Linked DNA regions of Homo sapiens: region 2 is linked to region 1. The links are contacts of gene promoters, found by promoter capture Hi-C in blood cells and fetal thymus (Javierre and others, 2016). All regions are on one chromosome and are shown on one strand. The core of a region is centred on a gene start or on the middle of the fragment in contact, and the rest is flanking DNA. Distances in the headings are between cores, read along the strand shown. Region 1 holds the start of TXLNG (taxilin gamma). Region 2 overlaps REPS2 (RALBP1 associated Eps domain containing 2).

Region 1 (5,693 bases), core at 1,572-4,071:
AAAAGACAATAGTCCTGGCGCAAAGGTGAGATCAATGTAAACAGAACATTGGATGACCCTTAAAGTCTTGGACATAAAGAAAGGATAGGCCAGGCATTGCGGCTCAAGCCCGTAATCCCAGCACTTTGGGAGGACGAGTTGGGCAGAGGACGAGTCGGGCAGAGCACTTGTGGCCAGGAGTTTGAGAGCAGCCTGGCCAACATGGCGAAACCCCATCTCTACTAAAAATGCAAAAATTAGCCGGGTGTGGTGGTGCACGCCAGTAATCCCAGCTACTAGGGAGGCTGAGACACGAGAATTCCTTGAACCTGGGAGGTGCAGATTGCAGTGGGCTGAGATCATGCCACTGCACTCCAGCCTGGGCGACAGAGCAAGACTCTGCATTAAAAAAAAAAAAAAAAAGAGGCCAGGCACGGTGGCTCAGGCCTGTAATCCCAGCACTTTGGGAGGCCGAGGTGGACGGATCACAAGGTCAAGAGATGAAGACCATTCTGGCGAACGTGGTGAAACCCCCTCTCTACTAAAAATAGAAAAATTAGCTGGGCGTGGTGGGGCGCGCCTGTAATCCCAGCTACTTGGGAGGCTGAGGCAGGAGAATCACTTGAACCCGGGAGGCAGAGGTTGCAGTGAGCCGAGATTGGCCACTGCACTCCAGCTTGGGCAACAAGAGCAAAACTCTGTCTCAAAAAAAAAAAAAAAAAAAAAGATATGCATTTAATTCAATTAAATATTTTTCATTTCTCTGAAGGCTTGGGGTTAATGGCATAGTTCTTTTCTTTTCTTTTTATTTTTTGAGACGGAGTCTCGCTCTTGTTGCCCAGGCTAGAGTGCAATGGCGTGATCCCGGCTTACTGCAACCTCCGCCTCCCGGGTTCAAGCGATTCTCCTGCCTCAGCCTCCCTAGTAGCTGGGATTGCAGGCACGTGTCACCACGCCTGGCTAATTCTATTTTTAGCACAGACCGGGTTTCACCACGTTGGTCAGGCTGGTCTTGAACTTCTGACCTCAGGTGATCCGCCCGCCTCGGCCTCCCAAAGTGCCGGGGTTACAGGCGTGAGCCACCGTGGCCGGCCTCTTTCCTTAATAAAGATAACTTTATTGATTTTTTTCATTCCATACATACTTAAACAATATAGAAAATCATGAAATTTGAAACCAGCCTGGGCAACATAATGCCCCATCTCTAAAAAAAAATTTTTTTTTGAGGAATAACTTACTTTTGTGTGTGTGTGTGTGATGGAGTTTCTCCTCACCCAGGCTGGAGTGTTCAATGGCACGATCTTGGCTCACTGCAACCTCTGCTGCCCGGGTTCAAGCGATTCTCCTGTCTCAGATCCCAAATAGCTGGAATTACAGAAGCCCACCACCGGCTGGGGGCGGTTGCTCACACCTGTAATCCCAGCACTTTGGGAGGCCGAGGAGGGCAGATCAGGGGGTCAGAAGTTCAAGACCAGCCTGGCCAACATGGTGAAACCCCTCTCTCTACTAAAAATACAAAAATTAGCCCAGCGTGGTGGCACGTGCCTGCAATCCCAGCTACTCGGGAGGCTGAGGCAGGAGAATTGCTTGAACCTGGGAGGCGGAGGTTGCAGTGAGCTGAGATCGTGCCACTGCACTCCAGCTTTGGGTGACAGCAAGACTCCGTCTTGGGAAAACAAAAACAAAGAAAAAAGAAAAGCCCACCACCACCACCATGCCCGGCTAATTTTTGTATTTTTAGTAGAGACGGAGTTTCACTGTGTTGGCCAGGCTGGTCTGGAACTCCTGACCTTGTGATCCACCCGCCTCGGTCCCCCAAGGTGTTGGCATTACAGGCGTGAGCCACCGCGCCCGGCCTCATAATGAATTATTTAAGACAATATATCAGGATTTCATGATGGTCTGTGCCTTTCAGAAGCTCGGCCATTGGAGATCTGGTTCCATCAGATGGAAATAGGGAATATTCCTGAGGAAATCTCCCCTCTCCCCCCCAACATCATATCAATAAAAAAAAAAATTCGGTTCAGCAAACCGAGTTTGTTGAAAAAATTTAGGTAATGAAACGAGTAAATGGGGTGGGAGAAAGCAGGATACATTCAACATGAATGAAGTGCCAAGTAAGTGTGCAGAAGCCGGGGCGGTTCAACCAAGGTGAATAGAATGCGGCACCTATCCCGCGGGAGCTCGGGACAAGTAAACCGTGGTAACAACTCTGGTGGAGGGGCAGGGCTCGGGGCAGGTGCCCGAGCACGAAACTTCAAATTCTAAGAGCCAATACACCTTCCGTCTTGAAAGTCGTGAAGTATTTTCCCTTATCCCCAAATCATTCGCGCCCAATTCCTAAGAACGGCAACAAAAACAAAAACACAAGAATGTGTCGCCGATCGTGCTCCTTCTCAAACACGGGGATATTTCTAAACTTTCCGCGAAAGATCATAACGAGTACCTTCCTATAGCCAGACATCGCCCCCAGAAACCGCAAGTCCCACTAGGATGCACACGAAGCACACTGGGTGCAGCACTCTCCCCTTTTCAGAACGCCGCCTTATGTCCCAATCCCGATCCGAGCCTGCGAGCTGTGGCCGCACGCCCTGCTGGGACTTGTAGTCCACTCCCGAGTCCCATTCCCGATCCGCGCAGACTCACACGGCCTCTATCTGCCCTTCGGTCTTGCTGAAGCCCAGCCCAGTATTCAATGCTCCCCATCCCCATCTCGCTCCGTCCCCTCGGGGGCCAACCTCCTCCGGTCACGTGGGAAGTCTCACATGCGGCGATTGGTCGTGGGGGCTCGGGGGCGGGGCGAAAGGCCCTGCGAGATTCTGTGCCCCTTGTCGGGCCGCTTGTTTGGCTGCTGCCGTCACCTCATGGCGACGCGGGTAGAGGAGGCAGCGCGGGGAAGAGGCGGCGGCGCCGAAGAGGCGACTGAGGCCGGACGGGGCGGACGGCGACGCAGCCCGCGGCAGAAGGTCAGTCAGGGGGACGCCCTCGTTGTTGTCGGGCCCGGGGGATGTTTGGGCTCCCTTTTTCAGGGTCCACCTCTTCTCTCTCCCTGGTTACCTATAGCCACGGGACGAACATCCGGTCTTCTTCCCTCCCGGGGGTGACGACAGTGGGAGCAGGTGGGGGGGGGTGGGACCGCGATGGATGGGGTGGGAAGGGACGACGGTTGGGGTTTGGCGGCGCGCGGCGGGGAAGCCGGGAGGGAGGGCAGGGGGCGCACGCGGTTCTAAGGGAGAAGGGGTGCGAGGCGGGGGTGCGCCAGGTGTGACAGCCACGTGCGGCCAGCACCGCGGGGATCCGGGCGCCAGGCGTTCCTTCTCCCAGTCACCGCCGTCACCGTGCTCCCGGCGCTGAGCGCCGCCGTCCGGGGGCTCGCTGGGGTCGTGGGCTCGCCCTCCTGGCGTCGGGCAGGTGCGCAGGGCGCGCTGCGGGGTGCCCCCGGGCTGCTCAGGCTAGGCTGTTGCGCAGTAAGATAACCGCGCGGGAGCCGGGGTGTGCTTGGCCCCCCTTCCCCCGCCCCCCTGCGCTCCCCGCCACTGCGCGGGCGGGCAGGCGAGCGGGTGAGTGTCGCAGGGCCGGTGCGAGCGGGACGCTCGGCCCCCGGGACCTAGACCCCGGGGCTCCGAGGGCTTGGCTGCACGTGGGGCCGGGGATGGATGGGGAGGCGATGCTGGAGGACCTCGGTCCTGCAGAGTTGGGATATCGCATGATAGCTGGTCCTCCCAGTCCTATTTACCACCCTCCTCTTTTTTCCCCTCTTTTTTTTCTTTCATTTATTATTTTTTTAATTTGATGAGTGGAAACTTGAATGCCTTCCCGACCCTGGCCTTGGGTCTTTCTTAATCTGGGAAACAGGCCGGACTGTTCCCCTTGCCTTACTTGACTCACGTCAAGGAGTTTTCAGTCCCTCCCTAGATACAGGAAAATTGAGACCTCTTTCAGAACGGGACAATTCCACTTGTTCTGGAGCTCAGTGGGTGGAGTTTGAAAAAGATTGCACAACGAACGGGGTACAGGGTTTTCGGGGCCCTGGAATGGATAATTGCGGGGACTGAGACTGGGAAGGTGGGAACCCCATCTCTTTTTTTCCTTGCAGGTGAACATACTGAAACGTTCGACTTGTTGGATATCTTGCTTGATCACCGAGGGCTATTTAATATTACTTAATTATGTATTTGAACACTCTTAACTCCTGTATGAAATTACGAAATAATATTTTTCTAATGCAATTCATAAACTTCAAATGGGAGAACAAAGGTCCAGTTTACGTCTGAGCAGAGTGTTAAGAATTAGCTTTTTGGGGCCTGTTTCTAAGGTCAGGTATTTTCATGTTTCTGCATGACAGTGTTACTACTTCTCAATTACCTCTCTTTCTTTCTCTCCCTCTCTTTGTATTCTAAAAGAAAGATCCAGTGCTTGCAGGACTGAAAAAGAAGCTGTGGACCAATGTCCTGTAAGGGATTCAACACCATCACTTTGGACACTTCACTTATTCCCTAAGGGTGGAGTGCCAATCTCAGTGTTTGATTTCGTAGGTTCCCCAGGGGAGGAGGACTCTGATAAAAAGCCACTGCAATTGAGGATATAAGTTCCCTTTTATGACACTGGGATAAGGACAAAAAGTCGTTGAATTAGGAACTGAGGTTTAATCAACTAGCATTTAAAATAACCAAGATAGGAGGTAATGACCCTTTGAGGTGCAGAGCTCTGGTTAACAGCTGGATAGGAATAGTCATGTGTGTGTCTACTCATTTTTGTTTATGTACCTCATACTCCATTCTTCTTTGCTTATGCTCTTCTGAGCATCTTTTTCTTTTTGATTTCTAACTGACAGTGACGGCATTCAAATACATGGTAAAATATTAATCTTTGAATTTTCATTTAACAAATTGGGTGAATTATCTTGTGTTTGCAAGAATCATTTTTAAGCCAGCTATGGTGGCATGCACCTGTAGTACCACCTAGTCAGGAGACTGAAGCAGGAGGCTAGCCTGGGCCGCAGAGTGAGACCCTGTCTCTTAAAAAAACAAACAAACTTGTTGTGTTTTTTTTTTTTTTTTTTGAGTCAGAGTCTTGCTCTGTTACCCAGGCTGCAGTGCAGTGATGCAATCTTGGCTCACTGCATCTTCCACCTCGTGGGTTCCAGCGATTCTCGTGCCTCAGCCTCCTGAGTAGCTGGGATTACAGATGTGTGCTACCACGCCCAGCTAATTTTTATATTTTTAGTAGAAACAGGGTTTCACCATGTTGGCCAGGCTGGTCTTGAACTCCTGGCCTCAGGTAAGCCACCCACCTTGGCCTTCCAAAGTGGCGGGATTACAGGCATGAGCCACTGCAACTGGCCAAAAATTTTTTTAAAAATCATTTTTACATTACTTCATTGTGTCCCTTAATTTTAAAATTTCTTTTGGGTCACTGACTTGAAAAAATATTTCTTAATTCCAGCTTAACTTCTATCCTTTTTTTCAGGAAGCAGAAATGTTTAATGAATTGAGTTTTTTGAAAATATTGAAAGAATTAAAAGAAAAGTGAGTGTTTTGTCATTATCTAGTTACATTATGGGACCTGAAGTGAGGAACAATTGGAGATGGGCTTTTTTGGTTCCTGGTTGCTTTAACCATCTGCCTAGTCACTCGCGACCTGCTCAGTTAATTGTGGCATTGTTTCATAACTACAACCATTTGAATGGTCTCTTGAGGTAACCTTTTGCTTCT
Region 2 (5,693 bases), core at 2,364-4,863, 260 kb after region 1:
TGCCTCGGCCTCCCAAAGTGCTGGGATTACTTGCGTGAGCCACTGCACCCGGCCAAGCCTCATCCTTCTGGTGTTCACCTCTTGGTCCTGTTAAGGTGGCCCTTGGCAAGTACCTCTTTAGTCTTAGGGTTCATGGGAGGGATAGAACAAAGGCCCACGCCTCCCCCTAGCATCGACATTTCCCTTCGTCTGCCAATGCCTACCATAGCTTTGTTTTCTCCCGCACTGCTTCCCTGGTTTTCTAGGCTCTTAAATCCTCAAATTTGACTTGCATGCCCTCTAGTGGCAGGTCTGATGCACCCCTTGTTACCCTGTTTATTGTGGTACCATAACAGCTGTTCTCACCACCCAGCTCTGTTACTAAATATTGTCTGTAATTCACAAATGCCAAATGAGAGGTTCAGTGGTCCTGACTTGCCACTCAAGTAGGAGCTGGAAATGTGGGATTTGAATTGGAGCTTTTGATTCCTGGATTTATACAGCATTTCAGTGTAACGGCAACAGTAAAAAAGATGTGGTTATAGTTGTTCTAGTTTCTTTTTTGTCATTTAAAAAGAATCCAGATTATTTTACTATCCACTCAGCTAATCTGAAAGAATGAAAATGTGAGGAATAGTGGAAAATAAGAATGATCATCTTTTTTTAAACCCTTTATTACAATTAGAAATTTTTTTGTCACTTACTGAGTATTCAGTATTTCATGCCTCAGTCCTGTTAACTTTGAAGAATACAAAAAATACATAAAGCATGATGTCTGCCCCTAAGTTTCTGTTCTAGTTAGATTCTAGTTATGAGGCAGTTAAATTTCTTCACCTGAGGAAAAAAATTAAGCATAACACATGATAACTTTTATTGGTGTTTAATTTTTCTACTTCTCACTAAAGACAGGTTCTCTGAGCATTTACTTTTTAATTTATTCTTACAGTCCTTTTCAGTGGAGAGGGAACTACAGGATAACAGCAGTTACCCCGACGAACCCTGGAGGATAACAGAAGAACAGCGCGAGTACTATGTCAATCAGTTCCGATCCCTTCAGCCAGACCCAAGCTCTTTCATTTCAGGTAAGAATGTGGGCTCCCTAGGCATCACTCTCACCAGAACATAGCCACCATCTTGAGAAATCATTCACGCAAAATGAGTATGGCAGCCTTCTGTGATTTCAGTTTGTTTTTCATCTAAAGTCGAATTTCTTATCAGATGTAAACCATGCAGAAGAAAAGTTGCCAATGACGTTTGGAAAATTATATTTCCATTTCAAAGGGCTTAAGTGGGAATTTGGGGGCAACTTGGCCCAGACCCTGCACCTTATCAGCTGAGGCAGTTCTTGAAATGCTAGCGTGTCGCCCCAAGGGGCCACCTCTCATTGCTTCCTCGTTATATTAGAGCTCGGGCAAGGACAGAATGTGGCCTCCTAAGGAGTTGGTGTCACAAGTCTTTTTATGTTATATGTGCCTTCAAACTTCAAACTCAGGCTCGTTTTCTTTGGCTCAAATGTTTGTCCTCCAGTTTTTCTGAGAGAAATTAAAATGGGGGAGGAAAATTGGCCAGTGCTTTCCCACTTGTCAGTTCTTCTGGGTTGTCTTCAGATATATAGATTCCTGTTGAGTTCTCATGTAAAATTCAAGCTCAGAGGAACTGGTTTAATGCCAGTGTGGCTACATTTTACCAGGCTGAAAGACTAACAGTGAAATAGTAGAGTCTAGAAGAAAAATTCATAAAGCTTTCTTTTTAGACTTTAAAATTTGAAGAATAACAATATGTCCTTAATAATTGTAACCTGCCATATTGAAGTGTGGGCAAAGATTAGTTTTATCTTGTGAAATGAGGCACATAATTGAAATATACTTGTATAAGTAATTGCAAACATCATTTACTGATTGGTGGTAATGGCTTTATTGACGGCAGAATAGTACAGATACAACAAATTAATGTTGACGTCATGATTAAGGAAAATAAGCAGAAACCCATATTGCACGATTTGACCACTTGCTAACCTTACCCCGTGCTCAGGTGAGTTTCTTTACGACATGTGCAGATATTTAGCCAAATACAAACAGGTACTTGTTAGAAATGTTTTTGTTTTCTTTTAACTTTTGTATCTTGCAGAATTTCAGATATAGACACAACTAGTCTGGCTGATACAACAAACCTCTGTGTACCTATCACATAGCCCCAATGATTTTCTCTTACCTACAGTTAACACATAAGGTTGTTTCAGTCAGTCAATGATGGCGGTACCATAACAGTATCACGGAGCTGAAAAATTCCAGCTCCATTAATCACCTAGTGATGCTGTAGCCATCATGATGTTGTAGCACAAGGCAGTGCTCACATAAATGTGATGATGCTGGTAAAAACAAATCTGTGCTACCAGTCGTATAAAAGCCTAGCACATATGATTATGTACAGTATATAATACTTAATAATAAATGGCTATTATTAGCTTATTATGTATTTATTATGCTATACTTTTTTTCTTTCTTTTCTTTTTTGAGATGGAGTCTTGCTCTGTCGCCCAGGCTGGAGTGCAATGGCACGATCTTGGCTCACTGCAGCCTCCGCCTCCCGGGTTCAAATGATTCTTCTGCCTCAGCCTCCCGAGTAGCTGGGACTACAGGTGCATGCCCCACACCAGGCTAATTTTTGTATTTTTAGTAGAGACGGGGTTTCACCATGTTGGCCAGGCTGCTCTCAAACCCCTGACCTCGTGATCCACCCACCTCAGCCTCCCAAAGTGCTGGGATTGCAGGCATGAGCCACCGCACCTGGCCTTTTATTATGCTATACTTTTATTGTTATTTTAGAGTATACTCTTACTTATATATAAAAAAAAGTTAACTGTAAAACAGCCTCAGGCAGGAACTTCAGGAGGTATTCCAGAAGAAGGCATTGTTATCCTAGGAGGCGGCAGCTACCTGCAGGTTATTGTCCTCTTCTAGTCACCTCCACAGTATAGAGGTGGAAGACAGTGTTATTGATGGTCCTGACCTTGTGAAGGTCTAGGCTGATAAGTGTTTGTGTTTCAGTTTTTAACCAAAAAGTTTATACGTGTTTGTGTTTCAGTATTTAACCAAAAAGTTTAAATGGTAAAAAAATTAAAAATTTTAAAAATAGAATAATAGAATAAAGATATAAAGAAAGAAAATATTTTTGTACAGCTGTGCAATTTTTTTAAATTTTTAAATTTTTGTGGGTACATAGGTGTATATATTTATGGGGTACATGAGATGTTTTGATACAGGCACACAATATGAAATAAGCACATCATGAAGAATGGGGTATCCATTTCCTCAAGCATTTATCTATTAAGTTGAAAACAATTTGACTACACTCTTAAGTTATTTTAAAATTGTACAGTGTGTTTTTGTTTTAAGCCAAGTGTTATTACAATGGAGTCAAGAAGGTTAAAATAAATTTTAAAGTTTATGAAGTAAAAACTTACACTCTAAGGTTAATTTATTATTGATGAAAGGATTTTTTTTTTTGGTAAATTTAGTGTAGCCTGAGTGTGCAGTATTTATAAAGTCTACAGTAGTGTACAGTAATGTCCTAGGCCTTCACAGTCACTCACCACTCACTCTCTGACTTACCTAGAGCAACTTCCAGTCCTGCAAGCTCCATTCATGGTAAGGGACCTACAAAGGTGAACCATTTTTCATCTTTTATACCATATTTTTACTCTGCCTTTTCTATGTTTCTTCTTTCTTTCTTCCTTTCTTCCTTTCTTTCTTTCTTTCTTTCTTTCTTTCTTTCTTTCTTTCTTTCTTTCTTTCTTTTTTTTTTTTTTTTGACAGGGTCTTACTCTGTGCCTAGGCTGGAGTGCAGTGATGTGATCTCGGCTCACTGCAGCCTTGACCTCCTGGGCTCAAGTGATCCTCCCACCTCAGCCTCCCTAGTAGCTGGGACTGCAGGTGCACATCACTATGCCTTGCCTGGCTAATTTTTTTGTAGAGAGGAGGTCTCACTATGTTGCCCAGGCTGTTTTCTATATTTAGTTGTGTTTAGATACACAAATAGTTACTATTGTGTCCCAACTGCCTATAGTATTCAGTACAGGAACATGCCGTACAGGTTTGTAGCCTAGGAGCAATAGGTTCTACCATCTAGCCTAGGTGTATAGTAGGCTATACCATCTAGGTTTGTGTAAGTACACCCTGTGCTGTTCGCACAATGAGGAAATCACCTCATGATGCATTTCTCAGAACGTATCCCTTTTTCTAGAAATGGAATCTCATAATATGTGGTCTTTTGTGTCTCTTTCATTTAGCATAATGTTTTAGTTTTTTTTTTAATTAAAACATTTGTGTGGGTACATAGGTGTATATATTTATGGGGTATGTGACATGTTTTGATGCAGACATGCAATACATAATAATCACATCATGGTAAATGGGGTATCCATCCCCTCAAGCATTTATCCTTTGAGTTACAAACAATCCAGTTACATTCTTTAAGTTATTTAAAATATACAATTAAGTTATTGACTATAGTCACCCTATTGTGCTATCAAGTAGTAGGTCTTAGTCATTCTTTCTAACTAGTTTTTTGTACCCATTAGCAATCCCCGCCTCGCCCCTACTCTCTCCCTGCCACTACCCCTCACAGCCTCTGGTAACCTTCCTTCTACTCTCTGTGTCCATGAGTTCAATCATTTTGATTTTTAGATCCCACAAATGAGAACATGCGATGTTTGTCTTTCTGTGACTGGCTTATTTCACTTAACATAATGATCTCCAGTTCCATCCATGTTGTTGCAAATGATTGGATCTCATTATTTTTTTTTAATGGCTGAATAGTACCCCACTGTGTATACATACCACATTTTCTTTATTCATCTGTCAATGGACACATAGGTTGCCTCCAAATCTCAGCTATTGTAAACAGTGCTGCAGCAAACATAGGAGTGCACATATTTCTTTGATACACTGATTTCCTTTCTTTTAGGTATATACCCAGTAGTGGGATTGCTGGGTCATATGGTAGCTCTAATTGTAGTTTTCTGAGGAACTTCCAAACTGTTCTCCATAGTGGTTGTACTAATTCCCACCAACAGTTAGCATAATGTTTTAAAGGCTCATTCATGTTGTATGTACCAGAATTTCATTCCTTTTTATGGCTGAATAATTCCATTATATCAGTACATCCCATTTTATTTATCCATTCATCAGTTGATAGGCATATGGTGTTCTTCCACTTTTGGAGTATTAAGAATAATGCTGATTTGAATATTTGTGTACCAGTTTTTATGTGAACATATATTTTTATTTCTTTTGAATACATACCTAGGAGTGGAATTGCTAGATCAAACTGTACTGGGAGCTGAAAGCATTCAAATTCAATCTCAGTAAGGTCTAACATTTCAAGAACAGCTGGGTCTTGCAGTTATGTAACATGTAAAGTGGAATGATTGCCTGATTTCAGTTGATACAGGTAAATCAACAATGAAGGAAGAAAGATTCCTGGATAAGTTTCTCAAAATGCCACTAGGAATTCTTAAATCTCACCAAAAGCTTTCCCAAGATGTCTGTCTTATCTCTGTGTGGTGTGATCAATGGTATTAATTTTCTTCTTTTTGGTCAGTTTTCTATTACTTTTCTATTTGAAATTTCTATTTGAAATCTGCCAAATTTGTTCAAAGTTTTGAACTTCGTCTTCTAAATTTTTGGAAAAATTTTGCAGATTTTGGTAAAAAT

Evidence for each region. Contacts are between HindIII fragments. The CHiCAGO score rates a contact against its expected background, and 5 or more counts as called.
Region 2: a fragment that was not itself captured here is called in contact with the fragment with the promoter of TXLNG in region 1 in 1 of 17 cell types (total B cells); the score reaches 5.9 in total B cells.

What each region holds. Positions count from the first base shown.
Region 1 is chrX:16,783,645-16,789,337 of GRCh38, forward strand. It overlaps TXLNG (taxilin gamma), which reads left to right and starts at 2,822. Exons shown (of 10, transcript NM_018360.3): 1 at 2,822-2,945. The coding sequence starts at 2,844. LOC124905250 (a long non-coding RNA gene) reads right to left here and starts at 2,622. Exons shown (of 2, transcript XR_007068398.1): 1 at 2,426-2,622; 2 at 2,016-2,319. RefSeq lists enhancers at 2,218-2,417, 2,389-3,121, 5,164-5,664 and a silencer at 3,168-3,607. The HindIII fragment of the contact is 8,203 bases long and covers 1-5,693 here.
Region 2 is chrX:17,046,422-17,052,114 of GRCh38, forward strand. It overlaps REPS2 (RALBP1 associated Eps domain containing 2), which reads left to right. Exons shown (of 18, transcript NM_004726.3): 6 at 926-1,061. Among named protein-coding and RNA genes, the nearest start is that of REPS2, 100 kb to the left of the region's middle. The HindIII fragment of the contact is 3,790 bases long and covers 1,719-5,508 here.